3 separate regions of the Homo sapiens genome follow, and regions 1 and 2 are each linked to region 3. Evidence: promoter capture Hi-C in 16 types of primary human blood cells and fetal thymus (Javierre and others, 2016). All regions are on one chromosome and are shown on one strand. The core of a region is centred on a gene start or on the middle of the fragment in contact, and the rest is flanking DNA. Distances in the headings are between cores, read along the strand shown.

Region 1 (3,356 bases), core at 208-2,707, 740 kb after region 3:
GGAGAAATTGGGGAGATAGTTGCAGGACAAGTTCACGGAGGTGGGTTCAAAGACAGTGGTCTGGTTTTCATAACACTCCTATGGGCAAGAGGGAAATGCTACCAATCTGATGGTCAGCCCCATTGAAACAAGTAACACTAAGATTCATCCTGGTAAGTAGGGGGAGGAGGGTGGAGGGAAAAAGTCTCACCTCCTTTCAGACAGCAGTTAAAGACAGAAGTACCTACACTGAGTATGAACAGAGGGAAATGTATAAGGGCTCTCAGCAGAAACTGGCTGATTCACTTGGGAGATGAAGGGGCAGAGCACACAATGTTCGTTAAGGAAGAATGTCAACAGCTGGGACATCTTAGCACTCAGTCCCTCCTGCAGTCTATCAAGCCAACCTTAAATCCATTCAGAGATGATGGCAAAGGTCCCAGTTTTCTTGTTTGTTTCTGCAGTGAATTCTTCCTGCTATAAGGGAGCTTTGGCCCCCTCAGAGAGACTTCCCTGAGAGGAAATAACTCCCAAGAGGAATCATAAATGAGTCACTGCGTAGTATTTAAGCTCTTACTGCCCAGGACTGGATTTACAATGCTGATGGAGGCAATCCCCTGGAGAACGAGAAACTGACTCGATGAATTATAAATTCTTGCAGTCAGACCCACAGCCCTGGAAAACTTCCCTACTTAACCCTTGTATTCAAACAGAATGAGAACTTAAAATATATGATCTTGACAATACAGCTGCAAATGCCCTGGATTAAAGCAGACTCCTTTATAAAAGTCTCTACTACAGGCCAGGCACGGTGGCTCATGCCTGTAATCCCAGCACTTTGGGAGCCTGACCAACACGGAGAAATCCCGTCTCTACTGAAAATACAAAATTAGCCAGCGTGGTGGCACATGCCTGTAATCCCAGCTACTCGGGAGGCTGAGGCAGGAGAATCGCTTGAATCCAGGAGGCCGAGGTTGCAGTGAGCCGAGACTGCGCCATTGCACTCCAGACTGGGCAACAAGAGTGAAATTCCATCTCAAAAACAAACAAAAGTCTCTACTACAACCAAAAATGCAAACCCACACTCATCCTAGCTGAAAAGCAATGCGGGATGTGGCTGTTGAATCAAGAGAGCCCCAAAACTGAAACAGATGCTGTCAACGATAAATTACCGCCTAATATGCAGGGCTTTGTGTGCACTGAAAACACTGGTGGTTTGTTTCATGGAGCTACCATGCCACCACCATGCCACTCAAAATCAAAGTAAATATTTCTTACTTACTAGTGCAAAGCCATTCTCTCCCTCTGCACCCTTAATCCCTCCCTCCCCCAAGCCCTGATCTCATCCGCTTTAGGGAGAAAGATGATTAGAAGTAGGACCAAGGGCTCCAGGTCTTCAAGAGGGATGCATCTGTTCAGTGGGGTGAGATTCTCACATTTTTATGGTTTGGATACAGTTCCCAAAGTCATCATCATAGTCAGTCCTGGGAGAGGATGGTAGGGAAGGATGTCCGAATTCAGTTAATGGGGTTTGGGCACAGTTTGCAGAGAAGAATTAAAGATAACCATGTATTATTGCTACGGCTTCCAAGCCTGAATATTTAATTGGTATTGATGCTTTCCATGTCTGTAGAGTGAATGTTCATATGTGACAGAGGGGATTATCCTGATCAAGAAGAGCCATGTATAGACAATTGTTATTACCTTTGGGACCCCATAACCCTAATGACTCCTTTGAGTTACAAGTCTATAACTGGTGGTTTTGCCAATTAGAGCCTCTGGAAAAGAAAGGCAACCTTCACTTGGAGGTGCACCGTGAAGTTTAGGACTTATTGCCTCCCTAACATAATTACCAGGTAGACCTCTTTTGAAAAGCAGCTATTAGCCTGTCACTGAGCTCTTCTGGAAACTGAACACTGGACCCATGGAGGCCTTCTGACTCTCCAGCCAATAATCATTTTGAGGCCGGCCAACTTGGACTAAATGACTAACAAAATGAAAAAGGAGCAAACAAGCCTCATATGTCAAATGGAAATGGCATATTCAAGAATGCAGCCAGCCCAACCCCAGTAACATCTCAGCTTTACGTGTAAAAGAGTAGCAATATTTTTGTTGTTGTTATTGCTGCTGCTGCTGAGACAGGCTATCAATCAGTTGTGCAGGCTGGAATGCAGTGGCACAATCATAGTTCACTGCAGCCTCAAACTCCTGGGCTCAGGTGATCCTCCTGCCTCAGCCTACTGAGTAGCTGGCACTACCACTCCTGGCTAACTATTTGTGTTTACTTGTAGAGATGGAGTCTCACTATGTTACCCAGGCTGGTTTCAAACTCCCAGCCTCAAACTATCCTCCTGCCTCAGCCTCCCAAAATGCTAGAATTGTAGGTGTGAGCCACCACACTCAGCTGAGAAGTGATCCTTTAGAAAAAAAAAATTATTCACCACTCTGTCACCTGAAGCAAAGCCACTGGCTCAAGAGGACCCTCAATTCACAGAACCTCCTCTAAATGCCTGGGCCTGTTTCACTTATAGTCTGGCTGAGCTGAAACCTGGTGGTCTTCACTGAGCTAAACTAAAGGCCATTCTCATGGCTCTGGCAAATACTCCCCTTGATAAACCTGTTATATTTTTACTGACTCTTGGGCTGTTGACTGTGGCCTACCTATTTGGTTGGCCACTTGGAAAACAATAAAATAGCAGATTAAAGACACCCCTTTAAGGGACTGCAAACTATAGGACAAAAATTATGGCTACTGATTGAACTATCTGGGTAGTTCATGTAGATACTCACCATAAGCATGGGAATGATTGGAATCAAGCTGCTGATCAAGCCTGAACCATCCAGATTGCCAACATTGCTGCCTGTACATACATGGCAACACACCCCCATTACACACAGAGCACAAGGTAAAGAACTCCATGTTTCTAATGCAGAAGCCACCACTACATGCCAAACTTGTGACTGCCAGAAGTTGACTCATTTGTCTTACGGTGAGAGAGGACACATCACACATAGGGATCTCCCTCATGCTCCTGACAGACTGACTACAGTGAACCTCTGACCCCTCCCTCCTCAGAGCTATTGGTGGTGCCACACCAATATTGACACTTATTCAAGTTATGGAATTGCCATTCCAGTCCAATCATATGGGTCTAGTCCCAACAGTAGGGCCCATAAAGTTAAGTTAATCTGGGTTGTGCGTTTTGCTTTCTGGAACATTTTCAGTCTGTCAATGGGGTGCACCCTATAGCACAAAAGCTATTCAGCAATGAGCTATTAGTCAAGGTATTCAATGAAGCTTTCTTACTCCCTACCGTCCATTGTCATATGGTATTATTGTGCATTGGAATGGCCTTCTCAAAAACTGTCTACTTCTC
Region 2 (3,556 bases), core at 1,057-3,556, 800 kb after region 3:
TAGGGGGAGTAGCCACAATTAAGTAGCTTTAAACCTTAAAAGTCAAAGTGAAATCAGAATCTTGTTTGATTTTTTTTTTTAATGGGAGTCTGATATTTTCCCTAAAATTTTGGAAGTGCCGTAGAAATTTGGAGCATATTGTCCTTGATAAGTAATTTCTTGTTTTCTTAAATAAAAAGACAAATGGAAAATGTTTTGATTGTGTGTAATATCTGAAGATGTATTGGTGCATTTTCAGTATATATGATGTTCTATTGATATTTTATCATTTTCTTATCAAAGGAGCACATTATTGGCAATTTCAATCCCTACTATGTATATTAGAGATTGTTTACATGTATTGTTTTATTTAATTGTCACATCAGCTATGCAAGTTAGATATTATGGGAATAGAAACTTGGAAATTAAAGAGTTTGCCCAGACGGAAATTGGTATAGCCAGGATTACACCCCTAAATCTGGTATGTTTGTGGAGGAGGGGGCATTTTTATTTATACCTTGTTATTTGGAAGCAACTCAGATATTACGTCAATAAATCTGTAAATATTTCAGTATGTAATGGTAAAAGATAAGGACTCTAAAAAGCTGGTGTTTAGTTAAGGCAAGGAGGTAGTTTCATTGCCTTAAGAACTAAGATCTCGTGGACATGTTAGGGAATTCATTATGAAGAGCGTATTATAAGCTCATTTTATGGGAAAGGCATATTTCTTTCTTTTGTTTTTAATATAGAGACAGGGTCTCACTGTGTTGCCCAGGCTGGTCTCAGAGTCCTCCTGCCTCACCCCCAAAGTGTTGGGATTTACCGGTATAAGCCACTCTGTCCAGTGTGAAAGACGTATTTCTTATATGAGGTAGCTAAATGAAATATAGCAGGGTTTTTAGAGAGGGAATCATCAGGTTTAATATATTAGCATGTATTCGGATTTTGATTAAAGATAGAAGGAAACTGTTAAGATTGGTTTGTGAGTGGATTGAAAAAGGTTCTTCAAATATTCACTAATTCCTTAGAGATTAAAAATTAGCATAGAAGTCGCCATTCAGGCTAGATTTCTTTAATGTGTTGTTTAAATAAAAAATAATGGCCTGCAGGCTGGGCGTGGTGGCTCACACCTGTAATCCCAGCACTTTGCGAGGCTGAGGCAGGAGGATTGCTTGAGCCCGAGAGTTCAGGATCATCCTGGGCAACATAGCAGTTAAGTGTCTCTACCAAAAAATTAGCCTGGCATGGTTCTGAGCGCCTGTAGTCTCAGCTACTCAGGAGGTTGAGGCAGGAGGATTGCTTGAGCCCAGGAGGTCTAGGTTGCAGTGAGCTGTGACCACGCCACTGCACTCCAGCCTGGGTGAGAGAGCAAAACCCTTTCTCCAAAAAAATTTTTTTAAAAATGGCATGTATATTGTTCGTCTAAAGACTACAAAAAAGTTACAATTATTGTAAGTAAATAAGTCAGTAATAATCACCACATGGAGAACAACTGTTAGCATTTCTGTGTATGGTGTGCTTGAGCAGATGAGGAAACAGTTTTAAGTCTGCCGTTAGGCACACAAACCTGGGAGACTGAAAATATTTGTTGTCCAAAATTACCATTAATTAAATGAAAAATGCATCGTTTAACAGAAAACTTCAAATAATACTAAATTTTAGGATCTGTTCTAAAAGTTTCCCATTTATTAATAACATAATTTTTCTCAAAACAATGTTAATCCAAGTAGCCTGGCTACAGAACTTGAACTCGAGTCATCTCTCAGGTTGCCTGGGTTTGAAACTCGGCTCTGTCACTTCTGTGACAATAACTGTGTGACCTCAATTAAGCTTCTTAACATCTCTGTGCTTGTTTCCTCATTTATAAGGATTGTAATAATATCTCATTTTATAGGATTGTTGAGAAGTTAAGTACTTAAAGCACTGCCTGGCACAAACTTGAAGCTTTGAGGTTAGCCTTTAAAAAAAAAAGTAATTTTGGACTCACATCCTATACCTTTGAATTTCCTTTAAAAGATAGTGACATAATCTAAAGGGCATTGAAGGTCTAGTAGAGTTTAAGATAATCATGCTATAGGCAATATTTAAAGTGATTAATAGTAAATTTGCTTTACTGATTTGTATATTTAATTCATAATTGTTTCTTTACAGGTTTCTTTACCTCCAGAAAGAAGAATATTGGCCCCTTGAATTCTGGAAGTTCATTGAAGAGTCTGAAATTAGGGACTTATTTCAAATTTGGACATGGCTAGTCGAGGCGCAACAAGACCCAACGGGCCAAATACGGGAAATAAAATATGCCAGTTCAAACTAGTACTTCTGGGAGAGTCCGCTGTTGGCAAATCAAGCCTAGTGCTTCGTTTTGTGAAAGGCCAATTTCATGAATTTCAAGAGAGTACCATTGGGGGTGAGATTTTCTTTTTTCCCTGCTTCATTTAATCGAATCATACATTGACAGAAAATATTTTGATGTTCCAATTGTGTGATTATGAATAGCTAAATAAGTCATAGAGTGAAGAAAAGAGCTGTTCAGCTTACCTTAGCTTTAAAACTTGCCTTTATCTTTGTTAAAATGATGTGTTTTTATATTTGATTGTTTGGTTAATCCCTTGTGGTTATATTGTAGCTAAAATACAGATAAAAAACATGAGTAGAATCAGTGTCTCAAGTAATAACATTTGACCTGATACCTATTTCTAGCTAACAACTAGAAGCTTCTTCAAATTAATACAGTACATGTTTGTGCTCAATTATATTGGTTTAAAATGAATAGTAAAAAAGGTAACCTTAAATTCTGATCTATATAACTGAAGTATTTGCAAATAATTATACTTACTTGTAAAATTAAATGTAATTAAATACTGCTAGATGTACTTTTTTTTGGTATTTAAGAGATGGGATCTTGCTGTCGCCTAGGCTGGAGTGCAGTGTCCGGATCATAGCTCACTGCAGACTGCAGCCTGAAACTCTAGGCTCAAATGATCTTCTTGCCTTAGCCTCCCACCAAGTAGTTGGACCTAAGGGTGCATGCCACCATGCCAGGCAAGTTTTTTTTTTTTTTTTTTAAGAGTCAGAGTCTCGCTGTGTTTCCAGGTTGGTCTTGAACTCCTGGCCTCAAGTGAGCCTCCAGCCTCAACCTCCCAGGTAGCTGTGATTACAGGTGCTCCCTGCTGAGATGCATATGTAAGAATGCTCCTAAGCTGAGGGAAGAGAAAAAGTGATTAATGGAAAGGGACATAACAGGAAAATGGAACCTGAAGAAAAAGATGAAAGAAGAAGGGAAAGAGTAGGCACTGACAAGGGTGGTTATGGTGGGACAGAGATGAGGGGAAGGTAAGATGCAGGGTGAAAAGGAGACAACAAACAGTACAGTATTGTCAAGAGAGGACGTGAAATGGGAAAATTGAATTTTAGCTGGACATGGTGGTGCATTCCTGTAGTCCCAGGTATTTGGAGGCTGAGGCAGGATTATTTTAGCTTGGGAGTTCAAGTCTAGCCTGGGCAACATAATGAGAACCCATCTCTTAAAAAAAATTGACTTTAATCAAAGAAACCTATAATTATATAGCAGTGGGAC
Region 3 (3,533 bases), core at 113-2,612:
GGGTCCCCCCCGAAGCCCCAACAGCCGAGATAATTGAAACAAGAAACCCCCTTAGTAAGGGGGCGGGGGGTGGGCCCTCCCTCCCTCCTCCCGCCACGCCCGAGTTCCTGGAGATCAGAGCTGCCTCGCCGCGGCTCTGACACCTGTTTGCTTTTTCCCTCCTTTCCTTCCGGGTGCACTAGCACCTGGGCTTACGTTTGTTTTTCTACCCTGGGGCTCTCAACTTCCCTTCCACACTCCACCTCCCTTGCAGAGTTTTCTATAAAGTTCGGGCTCTGGGTGTCCCCTTGCACTCCCCACAGGGCTGTGCCGCAGGCTTGGGCGACTTTCCCCGCAGAACGTTGGCCGAGAGGGAGTCCCCGCGGGGGGGGCCAGGGGGGAGGACTGGGAGAGACCACTTTCGTTTTCTGAGACGCCTTCAGTTCCTGGCCGTCCGCCAGGCTTTCTTCTTGGAGGTGTCAGTCTTCGGGAGTGGGGGCTGGGGAAAGGGGGGCAGGCTAGGGGATTTGTGTTTGAAGCTATTTTTGGAAGGCAGCCTTACTGTTTTTACTTACGTGGTATTTTGCAAATTAATAAAAATAGCAAACTTTTCTAGAAATGCTTTATTCACATTTTACCGGAGAATGGGAAACCATCCATTGTCCGTTCAAAAGGCTATTTTTTTAAAGTTTGGGATGGCTTGGGGAGGCCAATGGCAATTTGGGGAGAAGGGCTGAAGCACCCCTTTTTGGAGCTCGGGGCCAGTTTCCCGGACTAAAAGACCCTGGTGACTGGGGATGGGCCTCACAACTAACTCGGGCTGCCCTGCCCCTGTCGCGTGGGCTCGCAATGGCAAGTGCTCCGGAAGGGGGCCGCCTCCCCGTGGGGCTCCTGGCTGCCTCTGCTCCCTTGGACACCACTGGGGGGCCTCCCCCTCCTAAGTTCTAGGTTGAGGCCGGATACCTGCCCCGACCTGTCTCCTCCCTTTCTCCAATACCACACCCACGGGACTCCAGTCTCCCCGGGAGTGGGACGGAGAGGGAACAAAGGGGTCTTTGTTCACTGGCTCCCGGGGCGTGGGAGTTGCGCTCGCTCTCCTTTCCCGGCGTCCCGTGGAGACCGGGAGGCTCAGCGCCTCTCCCAGCTCTCAGCGCCGCCCTCCCAGACCCCAGAGACGTCGGTCAGGGCGCGGCGCCCCGGGCCACTGCGGGCTCTTTCCGGGCGGGCGACGTGGGGGGCGAGGCACCGCGCGGCGGCGCCTGGCGGGCACTGTTGCCCGCGGAGGGACGGTGGGGGGGTTTCAGCAGCTGGCGGGGGTGGAGGGGGCGGGAGAGGGAGCCTGCGCCGGGCTGAGCCTGGAGGTGCGGGGCGGGCTCGGGGAGCGCTCTTGGGGCTCCTCCTGCCACAGCCGGGGCGGCTGGAACTCTCTCCCTTTCTCCCTCCATCCTTCCACTTCCCCTGCTCGGCCCCGCCGTCAGGCCGGGTCCCCCTTCCCTGCCGTCATCAGGTTCCCCTTCTCCCTTCTTGGCACTTTCCTTTCGAACCATCCTTCTGGACAAACTTTGATGGAGAATTTCACACCACGCTGGAAAAATGCCGGTTATGAAAGGATTACTGGCGCCGCAAAACACCTTCCTGGACACCATCGCCACCCGTTTTGACGGAACACGTAAGTCTTACACTTGAACGAGTGGTATGGCATTTTCTGAGACTGATTTTTCTCGTACACATTACTTTTGCTCCCACCTTCCCTTTTGCACCAGCGGAGTGAATTTTCTTCTGTTCTTGCCAAGGTATCTTTTGTGCGGAGAAATTTGTTCCCTCATGGTTTGGTGTAGTATTAACACTTTGTATTGGTGTAATAGTTGGCTCTCTTGAGTTCTTGGGTTTGTTAAGGACTGAAACGCAGCCTGAGGAAAGACCGACGCCCGTATTCACTGTGGGACCTGCATTTTGGTGTATCTTTAGGGAATTGGTTGTAATTTTCTGAGGTGAAAAGGGGAATATCGGTGTACCTAATCTTTCTAGAGTTTCAAGGCTCCCTAGATCAAAAGGAGAGCTTGGAGTGTTCTTTCTTGGAGCTTCATTCCGTGATATATTTCGGATAGGTATGATTTTCTATCTGAGTTTAAGAAATGCAGGATTGCCAAGTGTAAGCTTTCTGTAGAATTTTAAGTGTTGTGAGTTTGTCAGAACCTTGATTCCTGCTTTTGAGCTAGAATAGCGTATCTTTTAATCCTTAAATGAGCCTAACACTCAAGCAGAGGCTGTTCAGGAAGAAGGACATGAATAAAGACGATTTGATGATAAGAGAAAGTTTTTAGTTTTTTTTTTTTGAGTACGAATATTATTGGACATTTAGCTCATTTAAGCTACAGTAGGAAAAAAAATAGATAGGATGTTGTGTGGTTGCTAGCAGACGGTTCGTTATCATCTGCAAGTTGTTCTCTTTCAGGACCACGGTCAGGTCCCCACTCCTTCTCAGGCTTTTCAAGCTCTCTACTTGACCCTGTGGATCTTCCTAGCTGGCTTTAACCCTGTAATTAGGAGTCTGTACTACCACCCCTAACAAATGCTCTCAGTTGGTTTCACTACGAATATCCTCATCTTCTTTCTAGCTTATCTTGCTTCTGTGCACTGTCTTCCATTTTTCTGTTGAGACTCAGAGAAACTCATTTATCCTAAAGTCCTTCTTAGTGGTTCAAGTGTCATTGCTTTTACTCTGTATATTTCTTGGAGCTGATATGGGAGAGCAATACTAATTTCATTTCCACTCCAGTAGTCTAAATACACAGTCTTATCTTTGGGTGGGAAGCAAGTCTTGGACTTATGCTTCAGGGATAGTTGGAAAAGTTTACATGAGAAAGAAATGAATCACTTTAATTTTGTTCAGTTTTTATTTTTGACATCTAGTCTAATCATGGTAGTTGGTGTGGATATTTGGTCACTTCATAAGTGTTTTTATCTTTACATCTAGCCATTCTTTTCCCTTTTATATTCTAAATGTGTTAGATGTTATGTATGAGGTGTAATGTTATTACGTATGTCTTTTTTAGATAATAATGATAAATATTATAGGAAAACTTCAAGTCCCTGCCATTGCCACTACCACACCACTGAAGCGCCACACAAAATCACCACTGCTGTGTTTTACCATGCATGATGGCGGATACTACTATTTTACTATTCATTACCTGAGGTACTGATCAGTTTAATGTGGATGTTTTTTTTTTTGAAGTTGAACATCCAAAACTAAAAGGCTGTAAACATTGATCCTGAATTTGTCTATTGAAAATGAGGTAATTGGCAAATGGTAATTGTTTATCTCATTGCCATTTAAAGTTGAATGAAGTGTAATGTGTAGTGAATCATCCCAGCACAGCCTTGGGAATTACTGCAGTGATACATTCAGATATCAATTGCTAATGAGAGGGGCTTTAAATCATCAGCGTGGAAATATCTTGGCCTCTGACTCTGACTATAGTGATATGCATGATAAGCAGGAGGGCATGTAGGGAGAGATGGATGTACTTGTGAATAGTTCTTTTTCTATG

Evidence for each region. The method cuts DNA at HindIII sites, captures the fragments that hold promoters and counts their contacts. A CHiCAGO score of 5 or more calls a contact.
Region 1: a fragment that was not itself captured here is called in contact with the fragment with the promoter of KCNH8 in region 3 in 2 of 17 cell types (M1 macrophages and total B cells); the score reaches 7.1 in M1 macrophages.
Region 2: a contact is called between a fragment that was not itself captured here and the fragment with the promoter of KCNH8 in region 3, in 1 of 17 cell types (total B cells). The highest score is 6.8, in total B cells.

The regions. Positions count from the first base shown.
Region 1 is chr3:19,888,971-19,892,326 of GRCh38, forward strand. The region is part of intron 9 of EFHB (EF-hand domain family member B); the gene reads right to left. Among named protein-coding and RNA genes, the nearest start is that of EFHB, 44 kb to the right of the region's middle. The HindIII fragment of the contact is 3,636 bases long and covers 1-3,275 here.
Region 2 is chr3:19,948,676-19,952,231 of GRCh38, forward strand. RAB5A (RAB5A, member RAS oncogene family) reads left to right here. Exons shown (of 6, transcript NM_004162.5): 2 at 2,131-2,386. The coding sequence starts at 2,224. Among named protein-coding and RNA genes, the nearest start is that of RAB5A, 3.4 kb to the left of the region's middle. The HindIII fragment of the contact is 770 bases long and covers 1,922-2,691 here.
Region 3 is chr3:19,147,148-19,150,680 of GRCh38, forward strand. KCNH8 (potassium voltage-gated channel subfamily H member 8) reads left to right here and starts at 1,363. Exons shown (of 16, transcript NM_144633.3): 1 at 1,363-1,648. The coding sequence starts at 1,573. RefSeq lists enhancers at 1-211, 212-805. The HindIII fragment of the contact is 4,663 bases long and covers 1-2,134 here.